2 separate regions of the Homo sapiens genome follow, and region 2 is linked to region 1. Evidence: promoter capture Hi-C in human tissues and cell types (Jung and others, 2019). All regions are on one chromosome and are shown on one strand. Each heading gives the region's core, a stretch centred on a gene start or on the middle of the fragment in contact. The rest is flanking DNA. Distances are from core to core; before and after follow the strand shown.

Region 1 (5,204 bases), core at 1,506-4,005:
CTGGGGGGCAGGAGGTGGGTCTGAGCAGAAAACCACAAGCCTGTGGGAGGAGGGAAGTGTTCTCCCACTACACCAGAGTGGGCTGAGGCCTGGGAGCACCTGCCAGGAGCCTCCTGATGGGATGGATGCTCTTTTCCTCATCCCCTTCTACTTGCTGGAGAGAACAGTAGCTTCAGAGGCAGAACATGGTTTGATGGGGGAAGGGAGGGATGGGTGACCAGCGGGAGGAAAGAAGCTGAATTTAGGGAGGGAAGCTGGTCTGTAAAGCATAGCCTCAGAGCCGGCAAAGCAGAAATACTGCTGACTCTCCTGGCTGTTCACGGACCGGAGGGGAGAAAGTTAAGAGTTTGCACTTACTCCACTTGCAAAAGCATTCAACTACAGAGGCGGAGGGACGGAGGCCTGGGTTCAAATCCTGCCCTGCCAACTCTCCACATCGTTGCAGTGCTTTATGCTGCGATTTTAGGCCAACTGTTTACAAAAGCAATGAATGAATGTCTACAGGCAGCGCTCAAGGAGTAATTTTAGTTTTGTGTGTGTGTGTGTGTGTGTGTGCGCGCACGCGGGTTCTCAGTATCACCCATCCTCTAGTAGTCACACCACAAATACCCTTTGAATTGAACTAAATGCAAAATATAATTTGATTATGGAAGCAGTTAAGGAAAGAAACACCCACATGATCCCTGGCACAATTTTGTACTTTTTATTTATTTCGCAAACAATCATGTAGCTTGTACAGGCACTGTTCTGAGCATTTTATACATACTGACTCACTTATCCTCGCAACAGCACTGTGAGAGTGCAGGTGAGGAAACCAAGACCCCCAGAGATTAAGGAACTCGTTCCAAACCACACAGCCAGGAAGCAGCCGTTCAGGGATTCGAACCCACACCGTCGGCCGGGCGCAGTGGCTCACGCCTGTAATCCCAGCACTTTGAGAGGCCAAGGTGGGCAGATCACCTAAGGTCAGAAGTTAGAGACCAGCCTGGCCAAAATGGTGAAAACCCCATCTCTACTAAAATTACAAAAAATTAGCCAGGCGTGGTCGTGGGCGCCTGTAATCCCAGCTACTCAGGAGGCTGAGGCAGGAGAATCTCTTGAACCCGGGAGACGGAGGTTGCAGTTAGCTGAGATTGTACCACTGCACTCCAGCCTGGGCAAAAGAGGAAGATTCTGTCTCAAAAATAAATAAATAAATAAATAAATAAATAAGTAACCCACACCGTCTGGCTCAGGGTCCACGCCGTAACCTCCGGGCTGTGCTGCCGTTGTCCGAAAGCTTGCTTCCAACTAAAGACCAGAGATGGGAGGGAGTCGCATTCTCCAATCTCTTTAAAAGGTCCCATTACCAACATCACAGAGCCTCTGCCACTACCGAAGGGTTTATGGCGATGCCTGCCACGTGGTCTTTCTTTTCATGGTTCACAAGCCACAGGGAAGTGCCTAAGGCACACAAATCTTAAGTATACAGTCTGATGATTTTTCACGCGGGTACACACCTGCATAACCCCCTCCCAGATCAACAAATGTCTACAGAGACATTTTCAGCTCCCAGCAGTCCGGGTGGTGTGCCCCTCCCCATCAGTGGCTATCTAGCCCCAAAAGCTAATCTCGATTCTGACATTCACACCATAGATTAGTTTCGCCTTGTCTAGGATTTCTAAATGGAATCATATGGTGTGTACTCTTTTGCATCTGATTCTACTCGTCAAATTAAAAATCACATAAAATCAGCACACGGGCAGACAATGATAGCGGGAGAAAGGAGGGCGCGGCTGAGTTTCTTTCCCTTCCAAGCAGCCCCCTAGCCTGTTCGTATTTGGGCTCAGTGACTGATCAAAGGGGACAGTGGGAAGAGCTGGATGGACACTGGAGTTTGGAAACACAGGAGTTGACCTTAGAAAACCAGTGGACCGCAGGGGGCAAAAGAGCTGCCCCGCCTGGAGAAGGCATTGTAGGATGGCGGAGGCAGGTGGGTCACTTCTGTTGCTTCGGATGTCCAGAGGGGAGAAGGTTTTATGAGGCCTTAAAACGCTCACACCGGGTTCCTCCCACGCCATGCGCCAGGGGCACCCCATGTGGCCACCGGTTCCTCCCGGGTTCGCTCTGGCCGGGGCTCCCCGGGTGCAGACAACCTCCCAACGACCGCGCATCCGCCCGGCAGGCGCGCCTCCCTACCTGTGCACTGCTGGATGAAGTGCTGGTACTCCGCTCCCTGCTCGCCGGGGACGATGGTGGAGCCGTCATATTTAAAAGTCACCCTTTGGGTTGGGAGAAGAAAAAAACACACACACACATCAGCGCTGGTGGCCGCGCGACGCGGCGCTTGCAGAGGACAATCTAACAGACGCGCTGGCCACGGAGAAGCCCGCGGGGGCCTGGCACGCCGTCCCGGAATAAGGCGAGGAAGACAGCGCGGGAGGCCCGAATCCGTCCCGCCTGGAGGCCGGCTCGGTGCACGAGGCCCCGCGCGAGCCCGGGGAGCGGGGCGTGGAGACGAATGAAAAGTTCCTACCAGATGACGGCCGAGCCGTCGTCGCGCACCAGGTTGTACGCCGCCCGGCAAGCCTCTTTGTCGATCTTGGTGGCCATCGCCGCGGAGCCGCAGCGGGACACTGTCCGGGGCGGCCGAGCGCGCCCCTGGCCGGCGGCGGGGATGGGAGCGCGGCGGGTACGCGCCGAGGGCGCACGGGCTGGCGGCGGTGGCGACGGCTACGCGGCGCCTGCAAGCTGCGAGCGCGGCGGCGGCTTCCACTGCGGACGGAGAGCGCGCGGGGACCCCAGGCCGTGGCCCGCCCCGCCCCCCCGCGCCCATTGGCCGCCCAGGCGGCGGCCCGCCTCTTCATTGGCCGTCGGGCTGCGGGGGCGGAGCGTCTTGATTCTCTGGCGGCCAATCCCAGACCGGAAGGCTTGCGCAACTCCGCGGTGGGGGCTGGAGTAGGGGCTTTGCCTCCTCCCTCTCACTCTCCCTCCTCCCTCCCGCTCTCTTCTCCCCCAACATCCCTCTTCTCTCTCCTTCTCCTTCTCACTTCCCCTCCTCCCCTCCCGACCCCTCCCTGGAAACTCCCACTACCCCAACCCCCTTTCCCACCCCGCCTTCCTCCTCTCCCTCCTCCTTCCTCTTCTTCCCCCACTGCTTGCTTCCCCCACTTCCCTGACCTCTTCCCCCTCCCTTCCCTCCCCCTCTTTCTCCCTTCCCCCTTTATTCTTCTTCCTCTCTCCTCCTCCCTCTTCTTGCCTATCCCAGCCCAAAACTTCTCCATCCTCCCTATTTCCTTCTCCCCAAGCTCTCCTCTTTCCTCCTCCTTGACCCCCTCCCCTGCTGCCCCCGGCTTCGCCTCCCTCTTCTCCACTTACCCTCCTGGCATCTCCTCCCTCCCTGTCCCCTACTCCCTCCTCCTATTCCCCCTCTCCCCCTTCCTCATTCTCCCCACCCCCCTGCCCCTGAGGCTGCAGGGCTGCAGAGCTCCACAGGGGACCTCCACGTGGATGATGTAATGCGTCAAACCCAAGGAGACAGGCTGGCCACTGTCCCTACCCCAGCGTTTGGTTCCATGGATTCTAGGTGGGGAGGAACTGGAAAGAATGAAGCATTTTAAATAGGAGGGGGTAGAAAGTGGACTGCTTCCAAAACGCTGGTGGGCTCGCGTTTACTCTGGATTCTGGTCATTTGCATTCCTATCTTAACCTCTCCCTTTGGGCTCCTCTGAAAGCACGAGCTGACTCATTCTGTCTTCCTCATTCCTTCACTGACTCATTCATTCATTCCCTCATCCAGCCATTCCACAGAGACCAGTTACAGCGTCCAGGTAGGTAAAAAGGCAGGATCCTGAAGACTGGGCTCTTGAATTGCATCCAGTACTGCCACTTTCCAACTGGGGGCCATTGGAAAGCCTCAAAACCTCTTTTAAATGACTCCTCAAATGGGAAAAATAGTATAACTGACATCACTGCTTTGTTTTAAGTGTAATTGAAATGATACTTGGAACAAATATACTAGACATTCGATAAAATGTCATCATTGTTGGTTATTAAGTGATAAAAACAAATCCTAAATAGAAACCCAAAAGGTCAGGGACAATGTCCAATTAATGTTAGAATTCTCAACAAGCAAAAAAACAAAAACGAGAAATTGAATGAATCAATCAATCAGTCAATCAATGGGTAGTTGAATGGGTGGGTGGACAGGAACACAGTTTCAGAAGAGTAGAGGCAGATGCTGTTATAAATAAGACAAAAAGAAATTCACATTTCATACCCCACAAAGCCATTCCTACCTTACTCCTTGACAAGGGTAATGGGACAATTGGCCATTAGAAAGAAGAACAAAGGTGGATCCTTTGATCAGGGAAAATTCCAAAAGGATCAAAAATTTAAACACAAATAAAGGAAATCAGACCAGTCGCAGTGGATCACTCCTGTAATCCCAGCATTTTGGGAGGCTGAAGTGGGAGGATCTCATAAGCTCAGGAGTTCGAGACCAGCCTGGATAACAGGGGGAAAGCCCATCTCTACTAAAAATACAAAAATTAGCCAGGCGTGGTGGCAGACGACTGTAATCCCAGCTACTTGGGAGGCTGAGGCAGGAGAATCGCTTGAACCCGGGGCGGGGGGCAGAGGTTGCAGTGAGCTGAGATCGCACCATTGCACTCGAGCTTGAGCGATAAAGCGAGACTCTGTCTCAAAAAAAGGAAATCACAAAAGTGCCAGAAGAAAATATGGGGAGCTTCCTTCTAACCATAAACCATGTTACCCAAATCCAAATCCAAAAGCCATTGAAAAGATGAATACATTCAAACACATAAAAAGTGATCCAGGAAAAAAAAAAAAAAACATACCATACCACCTCATGCAAAGTGTAAACATAAAAAGACAAAGCAGTAAAAAGTGTTTGCAACTCAAGTAAAGAATTAGTCTTGCTAAAATATAGAGAAGTCAAACTTAAAAAAAAGAAAATGAAAAGAACAATGGGCACAGAATATGACCAGACAGATTAAATGATCTTAAACATGCAAAAAGATGCTCAACCTCAACTCCTAGTAAGAGAAATGCAAATTAAAGCAAAATTGAGATACCTTTAAAAAATAAATAAATAAACTAGCAGTTTGGTAAAAATAAAAAACTTTGACAAGCCTACTTTGCTGGGGAGGCTGTGGAAGACCCAGGTCCTCTTGTACATTGCTGGTGGGAGTGTGAATTGACAC
Region 2 (5,204 bases), core at 1,671-4,170, 520 kb before region 1:
TGCTTTTTAAGGAGAATAATACATAACATCTGGAGTAGCAGAAAAGGCTCTGAAAAAGTCAGACGCCTTAAGTTTACACCTGGTTTTACTATGAAAATTAAACTTCTCTTCGTGTGTGTGTGTGTGTGTGTGTGTGTGTGTGTGTTTGTGTGTGTGTTTAATGCAGCAAAACCTCAGAGGCTCTTAGGCCTAAAATATGATAGACAAAGAAGAGTAAAATTTTAATTTCTTCTTCCTTCTGATGAAAGAAATGATCGTAAATAATAACAGAACTAGAAATTTGTTAACCTGATTTAAGATAAACAGGGAAAAAAAACCCTTTTCCTTTGGTAACACATATCTTTGGAAAATATCATTTAATAAATATGCAATTTACTATTTGAGACTAAACTCTATTTTGACAAGCCCAATTGTAATGAAGTAGGAAAGACTAAGCCCTGGAGAAGAAAAGGAAAAGCCAAGTTGCTTCCATGCTCACACCTGCACAGCTGATGACTTCAACGAACCCAGCTGATGCATGACCATTCCTGGTCAGGAGGCTTTGACAAAAACAAAACGAAACCCCAGGAAAACATGTTTTGCAAGAGTGCCTTTAAAAATCGGGCTGGGTGCAGTGACTCACGCCTGTAATCCCAGCACTTTGGGAGGCTGAGGCAGGCAGATCACCTGAGGTCAGGAGTTCAAGACCAGCCTGACCAATATGGAGAAACCCTGTCTCTACTAAAAATACAAAATTAGCCAGGCATGGTGGCGCATGCCTGTAATCCCAGCTACTTGGGAGGCTAAGGCAGGAGAATCACTTGAACCTGGGTGGAGGTTGAGGTGAGCCAAGATCGCGCCACTGCACTCCAGCCTGGGCAACAAGAGCGAAACTCCGTCTCAAAAAAATAAATAAATAAAAAGGAAAAGAAAAAATAAAACACACACTGAGAGAAGCGAAATGCAAGGAAGAAGCAGACACAAGGACGCGTCTTTCAGCACGAGAAGGCGGCCGCAGCCTTGAAGTCTGAAGGCTTTGAGATGAAGCTGGCGAAAATCGCTTCCAACAGAAACAAAGATCACTACCATCTACTACTGCAAACCCTCAGATTTTCTTCTACCAGAACAGTACGAAGTCTCTTTTTAAAAAATAATTCTGCCCCCCCAACACCGACCCTGCGCACTAAACAAAACTAAACTAAAAAATTCCTACCAGGAAAATGTTCACAATTAGCAAACTAGATGGAAGGATGCGGATACTCACTGTACTATTTTTCAACTACTCTGCAGTTTGAGATTTTCAAAGTAAACAGCAGAGAGAAATTTGCCTACAGTCACAATACTCACATTCAGCATACTTGAGGGAACGAAAGACTTTTCGTTGGGGCGTGACCCGTTTGATGTTTGGATGATCTTCAAGTGTTAGCAGCCCCGCTTTCTGTTTTTCTTTTATCTGAATCACCTCAAAATCACTAGGGTAGTCACTGGATGGATTGTTTCGAGGTATAATTCTCCAATTGTCTACTTCACTGCTCTTCAGGGCACTTGAAATAAATGAATTTCTAGCTTTGGCTGTAAAGTATCCATTGAAAGCCACAATATATTCTGAAACCAATCACCACAAACAAAAATAAGATTTACGCACATACATTATAACATATACTATATTGTATCTAATCTAAAATCTGGCAAAAGAAAAATTATCTTAAAGCCCACAGCAGACGAGAGAAAACACAAAGACTAGTTTAAGTACCTAGACAGCTGTCTGCAGAGCTTTGAGGAAAAATGATCTATATGGGGCTGGGCGCGGTGGCTCACGCCTGTAATCCCAGCACTTTGGGAGGCTGACGTGGGCAGATTACGAGGTGAGGAGTTTGAGACCAGCCTGGCCAACATAGTGAAACCCCATCTCTACTAAAAATACAAAAAATTAGCTGGGTGTGGTGGTGGGCGCCTATAATCCTGGGAGGCTAAGGCAGGAGAATCACTTGAACCTGGGAGGCGGAGATTGCAGTAAGCAGAGATTGCACCACTGCACTCCTGCCTGGTGACAGAGCAAGCCTCCGTCTCAAAAAAAAAAAAAAAAAGATCTCTATGAATCACCTAACCACAAAGAATACATCATTCGAAACCAGATACCCGTGATATTTTTTTAAAAAGCAAATACCTACAGAAGTTTGAATACACAACAAAGAAATGTATATAATTTTTATCAAGTAGGAAAAAGAAATTCAGAGAACTGAATGCTCAGTTAGTGTTTCTTAAAACGAAAACAGTAACAAAATTCCAGAGTGGATTATGTGAGACTATTTGCTCAGTTCTTCACATCTGGTCACTCAAACTTTAGAACATAAACATTCTGCACCTCCCAGCTCCCCACCTTCACCAATTACAATGGCACCTGTTCCAAAGAATCAAGGTGTAGGCTGGGCACAGTGGCTCATGCCTATAATCCCAGCATTCTGGGAGGTCGAAGTGGATGGATTGCTTGAGCTCAGGAGTTTAAGACCAGCCTGGGCAACATGGTGAAACAAAAAATAAAAAAATTAGCTGGGCAGGCCGGGCACAGTGGCTCATGCCTGTAATCCCAACACTTTGGGAGGCCAATGCAGGAGGATCACCTGAGGTCAAGAGTGCAAGACCAGCCTGACCAACATGGAGAAACGCAGTCTCTACTAAAAAGACAAAATTAGCCGGGCATGGTGGCACATGCCTGTAATCCCAGCTACTCGGGAGGCTGAGGCAGGAGAATCGCTTGAACCTGGGAGGTGGAGGTTGCGGTGAGCTGAGATGGTGCCATTGCACTCCAGCCTGGGCAACAAGAGTGAATCTCCATCTCAAAAAAGAAAAAAGAAAAAACAAAAATAAAAAAATTAGCTGGGCACGGTGGCAGGTGCCTGTAGTCCCAGCTACTCAGGAGGCTGAAGTGGGAGACCACTTGTGCCTGGGAGGCCAAGGCTGCAATGAGCTGAGATGGCACCACTGCACTCCAGCCTGGGCGACAAGAGCAAAACTCTGTCTCCAAAAGAAAAAGAAAAGAAGGTGTAGGTAAATAATTCATGTCAATTTCCTTTTATCATATAAGCTTACTCTACTGGGAAAACAAACTTAAGCAAAGTTAACATTCATGTGCTGTGCACTCAACCCATTGGAAATTTACTACAGAAGGCCAGGCACGGTGGCTCATGCCTGTAATCCCAGCACTTTGGGAGGCCAAGGAGGGTGATCACTTGAGGTCAGGAGTTCAAGACCAGCCTGGCTAACATGCTGAAACCCCGTCTCTACTAAAAATACAAAAAAAAAAAAAAAAAAAGGCCTGGCACGATAGTTCATGCCTGTAGTCCCAACACTCTGGGAGGCCAAGGCAGGCGGATCACGAGGTCAGGAGCTCGAGACCAGCCTGGCCAATGTGGTGAAACCCCATCTCTACTAAAAATAGAAAAAATTAACTGGGAGTTGTGGCGGGTGCCTGTAGTCCCAGCTGCTCAGGAGGCTGAGGCAGGAGAACTGCTTGAACCTGGGAGGTGGAAGTTGCAGTGAACCGAGATCGTGCCATTGCACTCCAGCCTCAGCAACAGAGTGAGACTCCATCTCAAAAACAAAACAAAACAAAACAGAACAAATCAAAACAAAAAATTAGCCAGGGACGGTGGCAGTCACCTATAATCCCAGCTACTTGGGAGGCTGAGGCATGAGAATTGCTTGAATCCAGGAGGTGGAGGTTACAGTGAGCCGAGATCATGCCACTGCACTCCAGCCTGGGTGACAGAGTGAGACTCTGTCTCAAAAAAAAAAAAAAGAAAGAAATTTACTGTAGAAAAGAGGAACATGTTATTCAGCAATAGCTAATTTTATATTAAGTAAGCTTTAAAAAAATAGGATGGGAGTTCCTAATACTTAAGACAACATCATTACCATATTCCACAACTGTTGATGAGAATTCCACCTTCAAAGTCAGGTGGGAACAGCCAGGGCATGGGGCCTTTTCAAAAGATTTCTTTTCCAGTCTGTCGCCCAGATGTTTCTTCCCACAGAGCAAAACCACGAGCAGAAGCAGCCAGATGTTGACAAGCTTCATGGTCACAAGCGAATATGATCATAAAATTGCATATATTCAAATCACACTTTTTTCTTCTTGATTAAAAGTGAATTTTTGTTTCAGCTAAAAGCTGCAACATTACTAATCAGCCATCTTACAGTCTTGCCCAACATAAATAAAAGTTAAATCCCATGGCCTTTTGTGGTTCAGCCTGAAGAGAGGCTTTCATTTCTTTCTCCGCTTCTTCTCCATCTTGGAAATAAGGCTTCTCTCACTCAGGCCGTGACGACTGAGTCCTGTACTCCATTTGTACCACAGAACCAACGTCCAATGGGGTTGATCAATCAACCACTGTGAGCCAATCTATGAAACAAAAAACAGTGCACACAGACATTAGTAGCAAACTGACATAGCCAGGTATGATTTAGTTGTATTTATAATTTAAGCAAGTGGGTCAGCCAGGCAAGGTGGCAGGTGCCTGTAGATCAGCTGCTTGGGAGGCTGAGGTGGGAAGATCACTTGAGCCCAGGAGTCTGAGTCCAGCCTGAGCAACAAAGTGAGACCCTATGTCTAAAATAATAAAATAATAAAATAAATAAGAGGGTAAAAGAGATATCCTGGTTTTAAGACAAATTAATGTGCCATACAACCATGAAACATATTATTTCATTTTTATTTACTTATTACTCACTGCTTTCACGGGAAAATTTTTTTTAGGCATCTTCAAAAATAAAACAATAAAATCAATGAGAAAAATGGAAAAAAGTAAGGACAACAAAATAACACCAAAAATATTAAGCACACTGGACCTGAGCATTCTAGCAGCCAAAGAGAAGAAGGCATCAGGATGATCCTTTGTTCTGTTTCAGATTCTGTATTTCCTATCATTTGCAACTCAATCCCCAGAGCATTTCCCCAGTTGGCACTTTTACTTCCCACAAATTTCATCAATTTTTCAGGCAAAAGCTTGGTATAAAGCCTTACTTTCTGCTGTAACATTAATACCTAACAGCAAAGTAATTTCCCTATCAGTGATATTTAACACCTTCTTTAAGAAACACTATGCTTTAATATTACATAGTTTGAAATATTTTCTACCAATTCTATGAAAAGAGCATAAAAGGGTTTACTGTCCTGAAATTTATTTTACCTGAAACCTCACACTTAAAGAAATGTAACCTGCTAA

What was found. Contacts are between HindIII fragments. The study calls those that stand out against the background at their distance.
Region 2: a fragment that was not itself captured here is called in contact with the fragment with the promoter of COTL1 in region 1 in 1 of the 25 tissues and cell types used here (dorsolateral prefrontal cortex).

The regions. Positions count from the first base shown.
Region 1 is chr16:84,615,323-84,620,526 of GRCh38, forward strand. COTL1 (coactosin like F-actin binding protein 1) reads right to left here and starts at 2,756. Exons shown (of 4, transcript NM_021149.5): 1 at 2,516-2,756; 2 at 2,179-2,261. The coding sequence starts at 2,592. RefSeq lists silencers at 2,585-2,634, 2,655-3,014. The HindIII fragment of the contact is 16,310 bases long and covers 1-5,204 here.
Region 2 is chr16:84,097,727-84,102,930 of GRCh38, forward strand. MBTPS1 (membrane bound transcription factor peptidase, site 1) reads right to left here. Exons shown (of 23, transcript NM_003791.4): 2 at 3,895-4,381; 3 at 1,327-1,584. The coding sequence starts at 4,057. Among named protein-coding and RNA genes, the nearest start is that of MBTPS1, 17 kb to the right of the region's middle. The HindIII fragment of the contact is 3,194 bases long and covers 1,324-4,517 here.